4 separate regions of the Homo sapiens genome follow, and all the other regions are linked to region 3. The links are contacts of gene promoters, found by promoter capture Hi-C in blood cells and fetal thymus (Javierre and others, 2016). All regions are on one chromosome and are shown on one strand. Each heading gives the region's core, a stretch centred on a gene start or on the middle of the fragment in contact. The rest is flanking DNA. Distances are from core to core; before and after follow the strand shown.

Region 1 (2,710 bases), core at 67-2,566, 4.6 Mb before region 3:
TTTTCTTTCATGAGTATATATAGAGAGAATTTCTGTTCGGTTTCTATGAAGAATCTTGAGAAATTTGGTTTGACTTTTGTTTAGGCTCTGTCTGCATAGAAGTGAACGCTGTATTCACAGTACCAGTGAATTTGCAAGCTTCCCTTTTGTGAAGATGGCTTGTTCGTTAGTGTTTGTCACACCGGCAATTTATTTGACTCTCTGAAGCTCACAGCCCCTCCCCTCCATCTCATCCTTCCAATCTCAACTTAAACATTCTTTTCATTGAGAACTTGAGTTAAGCCTCATGGGTGTGCCTGTGGCTGGCAGTTTTCTATTGTAGATCGTCCACTGGACTGCAGGTTCCTTAAGCAGAAGAACAGTACCTTACCGAAAAACCTCAATGCTAGGGCGTGGTCAGACACCTTGGATTTGCATCCTGGCTGTGCTGTGTTCCAGTTGTGTGATCTTAGCTATGTCCTTAACCATTCAGTTTTCTCGTCTATTTCTCACGGTTATGAAGATTCAATGAAGCTGTATATAAAGTCCTTAGCAACAGAGTTACAGTATATGTAGTCATGCACCACATGATGGCGTTTCAGTCAACGACAGACCTTACACATGACAGTGGTGCCATAAGATTATCATGGAGCTGAAAAATTCCTGTCGCTTAGTGACATAATAGTTGTTCGTTAAGTCAAATGCATTACTCGTGTTTGTGAGTAGGTGTAAACCAACCTACTGCACTGCCAGTCATGTAAAAGTATAGCATATACAATGATGTTCAGTGCCTAACACTTGATGATAAATGACTATGTTACTGGCTTATGTATTTACTATACTCTTTATCATTATTTTATTGTATTTTATTTTTCTGAGACAAGGTCTTGCTGTTGCCCAGGCTGGAATGCAGTAGTGCAATCAGGGCTCACTGCAGTCTCCATCTCCTGGGCTCAAGCAATCCTCCCACCTCAACCTCCCAAGTAGCTGGGACTACAGGCCCTCACCACCACACCTCACTAATTTTTGTATTTTTGTAGAGACGGGGTTTCTCCATGTTGCCCAGGCTGGTCTTGAATTCCTATGCTCAAGCAGTCCTCCTGCCTCAGCCTCCCAAAGTGCTAGAATTACAAGCATGAGTTCCCGTGCCTGGCCTTATCATAATTTTAGAATGTACTCCTACTTAACAACAAGAACAAAAAGTTAACTGTAAAATAACCTTAGGCAGGTCCTTCAGGAGATATTTCAGAAGAAGGCAGTGTTGTCATAGGAGATGACAGCGCCATGTGCGTTATTGCTCTTGCAGACCTTCCAGTGGGACAGCATGTGGAGGTGGAGACTGTGATTGATGTTAATGATCCTGACCCTGTGCGGGCCTGGGCTCATGTGTGTGTTTGTGTCTTAGTTTTTAACAAAAAAGTTTAAAAAGTTAAAAAAAGAAATAGGAAAAACCTTATGGAATAAAGATATATAGAAAGAAAATATTTTTGTGCAGTTGAACATTGTGTTTTAAGCTAAGTGTTATTACAAAATAGTCTAAAAGTTTTTAAAATTTTTAAAGTTTATAAAGTAAAAAAGTTCCAGTAAGCCAAGGTTAATTTATTATTGATGAAAGAAAAATATTTTTAATAAATTTAGTGTAGTCTGGCCAGGCACAGTGGCTCATGCCTGTAATCCCAGCACTAACTAAATAACTAAAGCACAGTGGCTCATGCCTGTAATCCCAGCACTAACTAAATAACTAAATAAAATAAATGTATTGTAGCATAAGTGTATTGTGTTTACAAAGTGTTCAGTAATGTCCTAGGCCTTCACATTCACTCACCACTCACTCACTGACTCAACCCAGAGCAACTTCCAGTCCTGCATGCTCCACTCATGGCCAGTGCCCTATCCAGTTGTGTCACTTTTTATCGTTTATACAGTACTGTACCTTTTCTATGTTTAGACACACAAATACGTACCATTATGTTACAGTTGCCTACAGTATTCAGTACAGTAGTATGCTGTACAGATTGTAGCCTAGGGGCAATAGGCTATACCATATGGCCCGGGTGTGTAGGATGTTGTACTGTCTAAGTCTGTGTAAGTACACTCTGATATTCACACAGCCATGGAACTGCCTAATGAGGCATTTCTCAGAACGTAATCCCATCCTTAAGCAATGCATGACTGTAGTTAGTACTTTATAAGTAATGACATACAGAATTAAATATGGCAGGGACTGAGGAATTTGCTCAAAACTAAAATAAGATGTTTGAACTTAGCCCACCATCCAGATTTCTAGGAATAGGAAGTACTGTAAAACCAGACTCCTGAAATGAGAAGAATTTAGTTGTTGCACCGTGGCTCGCCCAGCCCTAAGCCCTTAATGTGGCTCTAAGGCCACATAACCCATGCTCTGGCACCTGCTTCACTTGTTCTCCAGGCGGGACTCACTTCACCCGGTTCCCCCTCTTAGTAGTAGCCTCCTACTGAATTGAAGGAAGTCCTGTTCTCTCACCTTCAAGCTTTTGCACTTCCTGGTCCTTCTGCTGGGCGCTGCCCCTCACCACCCCACAAGCCTCACTCCCATCTTTTCATTAGGCTCCAGTCACAGTTCAAAGGCCTTTCTCAGAGTGACCTTCCTTAACTCTTCAGGGTAAGTTAATTTACTTCTTTCTTATCACACTTGACATTATTAGCTTCTTAAGGTCTGTATTCCTGGCTATACAGTTTCCTGATAGAAGCT
Region 2 (2,882 bases), core at 190-2,689, 4.9 Mb before region 3:
AAATGAATAGCTATGAATGTATAAAAGAAGATTGAAAAATTAATGACCTAGGTTTCCATCTCAAAATGTGTATCTGTGTGTGTGTGTGTGGTGGGAGAATTAAGCCCAAATAAAGTAGAAGGAAAGAACTAATTAAAAAATTAATGACCTAAAAAACAAAGGTACAAAAGAGAAAACCAACAGAGTCCTAAGTTAGTTCTTTTAAAAGAATAAAAAAATTGATAGACTCCTGGCAAGGGTAATCAAGAAAGGGAGAACACAATTTATTGATATTAAAAATAAAAATAAGGACACCACTGTAATCCTACTGACATTAAAAAGATAGTAAAGGAAATTCTGAACATTGTACTGATACCATTGAAAATTTAGACAAGCTCTCCCTCTCCCTTTCCCTCTCCCTCTCCCCACGGTCTCCCTCTCCCTCTCTTTCCACGGTCTCCCTCTGATGCCGAGCCGAAGCTGGACTGTACTGCTGCCATCTCGGCTCACTGCAACCTCCCTGCCTGATTCTCCTGCCTCAGCCTGCCGAGTGCCTGTGATTGCAGGCGCGCGCCGCCACGCCTGACTGGTTTTCGTATTTTTTTGGTGGAGACGGGGTTTCGCTGTGTTGGCCGGGCTGGTCTCCAGCTCCTAACCGCGAGTGATCCGCCAGCCTCAGCCTCCCGAGGTGCCGGGATGGCAGACGGAGTCACGTTCACTCAGTGCTCAATGGTGCCCAGGCTGGAGTGCAGTGGCGTGATCTCGGCTCGATACAACCTCCACCTCCCAGCTGCCTGCCTTGGCCCCCCAAAGTGCCGAGATTGCAGCCTCTGCCCGGCTGCCACCCCGTCTGGGAAGTGAGGAGCCTCTCTGCCTGGCTGCCCAGTCTGGAAAGTGAGGAGCGTCTCTGCCCGGCCGCCATCCCATCTAGGAAGTGAGGAGCGTCTCTGCCCGGCCGCCCATCGTCTGAGATGTGGGGAGTGCCTCTGCCCTGCTGCCCCGTCTGGGATGTGAGGAGCATCTCTGCCCGGCCGCCCCGTCTGAGAAGTGAGGAGACCCTCTGCCTGGCAACCACCCCGTCTGAGAAGTGAGGAGCCCCTCCGCCCGGCAGCTACACCGTCTGGGAAGTGAGGAGCGTCTCCGCCCGGCAGCCACCCCATCCAGGAGGGAGGTGGGGGTCAGCCCCCCGCCCGGCCAGCCGCCCTGTCCGGAAGGGAGGTGGGGGGGTCAGCCCCCCGCCCAGCCAGCCGCCCTCTCCTGGAGGTGAGGGGCGCCTCTGCCCGGCCACCCCTACTGGGATGTGAGGAGCACCTCTGCCCGGCCAGCCGCCCCGTCCGGGAAGGAGGTGGGGGGGTCAGCCCCCCGCCCGGCCAGCCGCCCCGTCCGGGAGGTGAGGGGCGCCTCTGCCCGGCCGCCCCTACTGGGAAGTGAGGAGCCCCTCTGCCCGGCCAGCCGCCCTGTCCGGGAAGGAGGTGGGGGGGTCAGCCCCCCGCCCGGCCAGCCGCCCCGTCCGGGAGGGAGGTGGGGAGGTCAGCCCCCCGCCCGGCCAGCCGCCCCGTCCGGGAGGGAGGTCGGGGGGTCAGCCCACCGCCCGGCCAGCCGCCCCGTCCGGGAAGGGAGGTGGGGGGATCAGCCCCCCGCCCGGCCAGCCGCCCCGTCCGGGAGGGAGGTGGGGGGGATCAGCCCCCGCCCGACCAGCCGCCCCGTCCGGGAGGGAGGTGGGGGGGTCAGCCCCCGCCCGGCCAGCCTCCCCGTCCGGGAGGTGAGGGGCGCCTCTGCCCGGCCGCCCCTACTGGGAAGTGAGGAGCCCCTCTGCCCAGCCAGCCGCCCCGTCCGGGAGGGAGGTGGGGGGGTCAGCCCCCTGCCCGGCCAGCCGCCCCATCCGGGAGGTGAGGGGCGCCTCTGCCCGGCCGCCCCTACTGGTAAGTGAGGAGCCCCTCTGCCCGGCCAGCCGCCCCGTCCGGGAGGGAGGTGGGGGAGTCAGCCCCCCACCCGGCCAGCCGCCCCGTCTGGGAGGTGAGGGGCGCCTCTGCCCGGCCGCCCCTACTGGTAAGTGAGGAGCCCCTCTGCCCGGCCAGCCGCCCCGTCCAAGAGGGAGGTGGGGGGGTCAGCCCCCCACCCAGCCAGCCGCCCCGTCCGGGAGGGAGGTGGGGGAGTCAGCCCCCCGCCCGGCCAGCCGCCCCGTCCGGGAGGTGAGGGGCGCCTCTGCCCGGCCGCCCCTACTGGAAAGTGAGGAGCCCCTCTGCCCAGCCAGCCGCCCTGTCCGGGAGGGAGGTGGGGGGGCCAGCCCCCCGCCCAGCCAGCCGCCCCGTCCGGGAGGTGAGGGGCACCTCTGCCCGGCCGCCCCTACTGGGAAGTGAGGAGCCCCTCTGCCCGGCCACCACCCCGTCTGGGAGGTGTACTCAACAGCTCATTGAGAACGGGCCAGGATGACAATGGCGGCTTTGTGGAATAGAAAGGGGGGAAAGGTGGGGAAAAGATTGAGAAATCGGATGGTTGCTGTGTCTGTGTAGAAACAAGTAGACGTGGGAGACTTTTCATTTTGTTCTGTACTAAGAAAAATTCTTCTGCCTTGGGATCCTGTTGATCTGTGACCTTACCCCCAACCCTGTGCTCTCTGAAACATATGCTGTGTCCACTCAGGGGTTGAATGGATTAAGGGTGGTGCAAGATGTGCTTTGTTAAACAGATGCTTGAAGGCAGCATGCTCGTTAAGAGTCATCACCACTCCCTAATCTCAAGTACCCAGGGACACAAACACTGCGGAAGGCCGCAGGGTCCTCTGCCTAGGAAAACCAGAGACCTTTGTTCACTTGTTTATCTGCTTGACCTTCCCTCCACTATTGTCCTGTGACCCTGCCAAATCCCCCTTTGCGAGAAACACCCAAGAATGATCAATTAAA
Region 3 (2,903 bases), core at 339-2,838:
AAGCTCAGTGGATAGATGTGAGCTGGAGAAATACCTATGTGGGTCCTCGGTGAAAACTGAAGGTTGGGGAAAGGAGGAAAGCAGAAAAAAAGCTTTGCAGAGGATAATGAGCTTCAAAGAAGATTGGGAGGAAATGGGCCACAGAGGTGCCAAAGGAGACCACCTGTGGCCTGAAAAAAGGATTTCCTGCTTGCCTGCCTTTCTGTATTAAGACTCGTATTAAAAGGCATGATAACATTCCTAAATGTGTCCTAAGGGGACAAAAGGAAGTGGCTCAGAAGTGTTTTCAGCTAGGGGAGGAAGCTGGGTTTCAGAACCAACCCTTGGGATTAACATCAGGAGAATTTGGCTTCCTGCCCTTTAATAAGTCACTTACCAGAATCTCAGAGGCAACCAAAAATGGACCAAACAACCCGGCCAGAGAATGCGGCTTCTGAGTGTAAGACACTGAGGCGGTGTCACAGACAGGTCAGTGCCTCTGGTGTCTAGAAAAGGGGCAGGGGCTTGCGGGGAGAGGGCTGTCGCGCAAGTGTGGAAGTGGAGTGCCGAGATTGGACGGACTAACCACGGGGAGGCACCGTTGGTAAGAACAGGCCTGGAAAGCAGCTGGCAGCAGTCACAGAATTAGGCCAGAGAGAGACCTCCATGGGAAAGCAGACGGGAGGTCCAAATGAGAGCGTGTGAATTAAAAAAAAAAAAAAAAAAAAAGACCAGGAACTATGTTGCTATGGGAGAGGTTCTCCAACTTCAGTGTGCGCCAGAATCAGCAGCGAACTGTGACAGATGTGGATTCCTGGTCCTCAGCCTCCCCCCTCCCCCCAGCCCCCGGCCCCCACTCGGATGCTGCAGGTCGGGGCCGACACACACAGATTTACAAAGCTCCTCTGGCTGCTCTAGTGCCCAGGGCCCACTTGGAGCTGAGCTCCCTTCAGCTCCAGCCTTCAGCTCCTGCACTGATGGAGAGAACGGGCGTTTCTTGATGCCACGCCAAGTGTCCTTCTGACCCCTGGTACCCTGTGGGCCCGACGTGGCGGCCTCGGGCCTCGCAGCGCCGCCCAACGCAGTAGGACCTAGCGATGGGAGCCACTGGGCAGTCGCGCGGCCCGGCCCTCCCCAAAAGCTTGGCTTGCAGACGTTAGCGTATGCCCCAGCCCCTGCGCATGGCGGTTGCGCTGTGGGCTGTGCGAATAAACCTCCGGGAAGGTCTCCGTGGTGACTGGCAGACGCCCTGGCCAATTGTGACCCGGCGCTTGTTTGTCTCTGCCCCATCCCTCCCCGGGGGGCCGATACTTCCATGACTGACAGGCCGTCCCAGGCGCTGTTACGTAAGGGGAGGGTCAAGTGCAGTCCCACCCAAACCGGGGTGATTTGATTTGCAGGACCGAGTGTGTTCTTCCCAACGCCCCCGGAAGAACGTCTTTGACGGGCAGGTGTGAGAGCCAGTTGGCGCCGGGAGGCCAGGCGGAAGCCTCGGGCCCCAGGATCGTGCAGCAGGGGGCGGAGCCCGCTGCCGAGGGCAGGGCAGGGCAGGGCAGGGCGGGGTGGGGCGGGGCGGGGATCAAGCAGGGGCAGGGCTGGCGCTGCGGCGGGAGATGCTGTCGGGCCGCGGCGGCGCTTGGCAGCCAGGAGCTCTGCATTGAAGGCACTGGGGTGAGGCTTACTGCCCGGCAGGCTGGTGGGTACGCGAGGGCTGAGGTGTCTGTAAATCTGGCCGCCAGCCTCCACGGGCCCGGCATTTGTCCATCTTTCTAGGCGCTCGCGACTCGGCGACGGCGGCCGCAGTGGGACACGGAGGCGGGGCCGGGCACCTGTGCGCGTTTGCAGGCACCTGCTGCGCTGGCCGCCTCGCAGCCCGGGACTGCTGCTGGGGACTGCGGCTGGAGCTGGGCTGGCCCGGCCCGAGGGAGAGGGGGGCCCAGCTGGCTCGCCCCGGCCCGTGCCCGCCCTCCCCGGCCGGGTCCCGACCCCGAGCTCTGGTTAAGGGGGCGTCGCCGGGCCCCAGAGCCCCCCCACTGGAGGGGCCCGCGGCTCCCGGGCCAGCATCGAGCTAGCTGCGAGGCCAGGACAGGGCCCCCGCCTTGCATCACCTCGAGACAGGTTTGTCCAGATTCCCTGAGTGCTCAGAGACGGGTTTCCGCCCGCGGTGAGGGTGCCGGTCCGAGGCCGCCGCGGGTCCCGGCTGTCCCCAGCGAGCCTGGCCCGGGCCGTTTTCATCTTTTTTTTTCTGGCCCCTGCTCTGTCTCCTCTTAACGTGTAATTTCTTAAGTCCGATTCGGGGTGATGTGAGTGCGCTGTGGCATGTAGAGTAACAGCAGCACTCATGTTTTAGCCTAGTTTTAGCTCTGCCACGCACTGTCATTCGCGCAGGCTGAAGACCCAGACTTCTCAGCTGGGTGATGTAAAGGAATGCAGCCGTGGCCAAACAGGCAGAAATTCTAAAATTGTTTCCAAGTGACAAGGATGTAACATGTCTTGCTTCCATCTATGTCATTCCTCTCAGAACATGTATGCTGTGCTTGTCCTAGACTAGACCCTGAAAAGTGTGCTACAGTTTCTCGTGATTATGTTGCTGCTGGAAACATTGGATTAAAAGATCCATAGCAAAGTTAGGCAGCAGAAGACAATACCTCCTGCTTAATGACAGGCAGAACTGGGGACAAAATTTACTGGATTCTTAAAGAGAATCCTAACGCGTTAGACCTTTAAGAGACTTTACAGGTTTGCACCAGCCCATTAAATGTATGTTGTGGAGCACACCACTGTGTCCCAAGGGATCCGGTCCCGTGTTAGGTGTGTCCTAGAGGACACTGGGGTGCTGCACATTACTGCTAGATCTGAAAATCAGTGTCTTCATTTGAGCCAAAGGGGAACATGCCCCCGCACATTTTTGATATCTCAAGTAT
Region 4 (2,883 bases), core at 14-2,513, 3.3 Mb after region 3:
GGGCGGCCGAGGCAGGTAGATCACCTGATGTTGGGAGTTTGACACCAGCCTGACCAACATGGAGAAACCCCATCTCTACTAAAGATACAAAATTAGGCATGGTGGCACATGCCTGTAATCCCAGCTACTTGGGAGGCTGAGGCAGGAGAATTGCTTGAACCCGGGAGTCAGAGGTTGCAATGAGCCAAGATCGCGCCACTGCACTCCAACCTGGGCAACACAAGTGAAACTCCGTCTAAAAAAAAAAAAAAAACAGAAAGAGAGAGAGAGGGAGGGAGCGAGAGCGAGAGAGAGAGAGAAAGAGAAGCAGATATAAGCCCTAATGCAGTGCTGAAAAAAGGCATGAACATCTTGGGCTTACTATGACATGATGAACAATGGGCACTAGAGGATGGCACATACAAGAGGATACTGCCCTACGGCAGTGAAGAGCACTACATCTCAGCCCTCCAAATCTCAGCTCCCCACTAGCAGGTCCACCTATACATCCCCCTACTATCTTCTTACCCAAACCAATAGTCCTTCTGGCCCTTATTTCCAAAAACACCACAAATATTTCCCCAGTCACTCAAGTTCAAAGCTACAGTGTGATTATTAAATCCACTTAAGGAATCTGAATCATCTCCATCCTTACCCTGTAATACCTCTCACATTCATTCTCCCTTCACATCCCCATTCCCACCATCCTAGTTTAAGAAATTGTACCTTAAACCCAAGTTTCCCAACAAGGTCTTGATGTCCCCACAGCCAAATTTGTACTCCAAAACATTGTTTTGAACAAGTCATCCAAGCCTTAAAAAAGCATCTACAGATCTGGCAGTACAGCCAACAGAAACCTATCATGAGCTTGGACAAACACCAAGCACCTTCCAGAAGAAGTTTCTGGACCCAGGGCTCAAGACCAAGTTCTGCAAATTCCCTGTATTTGCTACTTCTTGCCATCCCCTCTTTCTCCATAGTGATAAACAATTAAGTCTTTCAAAAGAAAAGGGTTTATGGCTCGTTTTCATGGACAAGCAGCAGCAGGTGGACAGCATCCTAAACCATGGCCAGTTCTGGAGGGGAGCAAAGCCCAAGAGAATCAGTGGAAGCAACTTAAAACATAAAAGGCCAGGCCAGGCATGGTGGCTCATGCCTGTAATCCTGACACTTTGGGAAGCCAAGGTGGGCAGATCACTTGAGGTCAGAAGTTCGAAACCAGTCTGGCCAACATGGTGAGACCCCATCTCTACTAAAAATACAAAAATTACCTGGGCATGGTGGCGGGCGCCTGTAATCCCAGTTACTCGGGAGGCTGAGGCAGGAGAATTGCTCGAACCTGGGAGACGGAGGTTGCAGTGGGCCAAGATTGTGCCACCACACTCCAGCCTGGGCAAGAGAGCAAGACTCCCTCTCATTAATTCATTCATTCATTCATAATTAAATAAATAAATAAGGCCAGGCATGGTGGCTCACACCTGTAATCCCAACATTTTGCTAGGCGGAGGCGGGAGGATCACTTGGACCAGGAGTTGGAGACCTTCATGGGCAACATGACAAGACCCCATCTTTACAAAAAAAACCAAAATGAGCCAGGCATGGTGGCACTCGCCTGTAGTCCCAACTACTCAGGAGGCTGAGGTGGGAAGTTCACTTCAGCCTGGGAGGCCAAGGCTGCTGTGACCCATGATTATGACACTGCACTCCAGCCTGAGCGACAGAGCAAGACCCTGTCTCAAAAAAAATTAAAAAAATAAATTTAGGCCAGGCACAGTGGCTCACACCTGTAATCCCAGCACACTGGGAGGCCAAGGCATGTGGATGGCTTGAGCCCAGGCAAAGGCTGCAGTGAGCCGAGATCACACCACTGCACTCCAGCCTGGGCAACAGAGCGAGACCCTGTCTCCATAAAATTAAATTAAAATTTAAAAATAATAAAACACAAAATAAAAAAATGTTTTAAAAAGCAAACAAAATCCCTGGTCTGTGGGTACATGAAGAAGTCTGAGATGATGAGCTCAAGAGTTTTATTTTGAAGACTTTAGGATGAAATCCAATATCTTACTCTACATATTAAAGAAATGTCCATGTCATGTGTAAGAGGGAACACATAATAAAAGGAAAGTTAAACATAAGTGGGCTATACCAAGAGCATGAAGTGAGTACCTTTGAGAGTTCAGAGGAGAAACCAAAAACATCAAGGACTTAGGCAATGCAAGAGGTCAGCATTCTAAATAAATCAACCAATTTGGTGGAAGCAGAGAACACAAAAGACAGCTGCGAGAGACTATATAGCTGTCCCATGGTTCTAGTCCATTTTCACATGCTTTCTGGTCTCCTCTCCCCATCTGGACTATCAGTTCAGAGGCCAAGAACCACCACAATGTGTTAACCTATTAGCTAACTATCAGTCACATCTTAAGAATTCAGAAAACAATGGTAACAGTTTTAGTATATTTAATCTCAGAACAGCATAACATCGAGGTGCACTCTGAATTCAGATTTTTTTAAATACCTATATTAAAAATAGAAAAACTTTCTAAAGTTAAGAAATAAGGATACTGGCGAGAATGGTGGCTCATGCCTATAATCCCAGCACTCTGTGAGGCCAAGGTGGGAGGACTGCTTGAGGCCGGTTGAAGACCAGCCTAGGCAACAAATGGAGGCCCCATCTCTACAAAAAGTAAAAATAAAAAAATTAGGCAGGTGTGGTGACATGTGCCTGTAGTCCCAGCTACTCCAGGAAGCTAAGGCAGGAGGATCACTTGAGCCCAAGAGTTAGAGGATACAGTGAGCTATGATCACGTCACTCCACTCCAGCCTAGGCAGCAGAGTGAGACCCAGTCTCAAAAGAAAAAAAAGAAATCAGGATAATGAGGCCGGGCACGGTGGCTCATGCCTGTA

The links. Contacts are between HindIII fragments. The CHiCAGO score rates a contact against its expected background, and 5 or more counts as called.
Region 1: a fragment that was not itself captured here is called in contact with the fragment with the promoter of AKTIP in region 3 in 1 of 17 cell types (monocytes); the score reaches 5.8 in monocytes.
Region 2: a contact is called between a fragment that was not itself captured here and the fragment with the promoter of AKTIP in region 3, in 1 of 17 cell types (naive CD4 T cells). The highest score is 5.0, in naive CD4 T cells.
Region 4: a contact is called between a fragment that was not itself captured here and the fragment with the promoter of AKTIP in region 3, in 1 of 17 cell types (naive CD8 T cells). The highest score is 7.3, in naive CD8 T cells.

What each region holds. Positions count from the first base shown.
Region 1 is chr16:58,123,827-58,126,536 of GRCh38, reverse strand. The region is part of intron 1 of CFAP20 (cilia and flagella associated protein 20); the gene reads left to right. Among named protein-coding and RNA genes, the nearest start is that of CFAP20, 4.2 kb to the left of the region's middle. The HindIII fragment of the contact is 2,351 bases long and covers 141-2,491 here.
Region 2 is chr16:58,395,345-58,398,226 of GRCh38, reverse strand. The region is part of intron 1 of GINS3 (GINS complex subunit 3); the gene reads right to left. Among named protein-coding and RNA genes, the nearest start is that of GINS3, 4.3 kb to the right of the region's middle. RefSeq lists an enhancer at 2,289-2,882. The HindIII fragment of the contact is 6,974 bases long and covers 1-2,882 here.
Region 3 is chr16:53,501,894-53,504,796 of GRCh38, reverse strand. AKTIP (AKT interacting protein) reads left to right here and starts at 1,588. Exons shown (of 10, transcript NM_022476.4): 1 at 1,588-1,650. It overlaps LOC124903690 (a long non-coding RNA gene), which reads right to left and starts at 417. Exons shown (of 2, transcript XR_007065069.1): 1 at 377-417; 2 at 1-56. RefSeq lists silencers at 421-510, 1,231-1,470, 1,491-1,560, 1,821-2,120 and enhancers at 831-930, 1,391-1,890, 1,891-2,392. The HindIII fragment of the contact is 2,307 bases long and covers 1,123-2,903 here.
Region 4 is chr16:50,156,617-50,159,499 of GRCh38, reverse strand. The region is part of intron 1 of TENT4B (terminal nucleotidyltransferase 4B); the gene reads right to left. Among named protein-coding and RNA genes, the nearest start is that of TENT4B, 4.8 kb to the right of the region's middle. The HindIII fragment of the contact is 5,097 bases long and covers 1-2,883 here.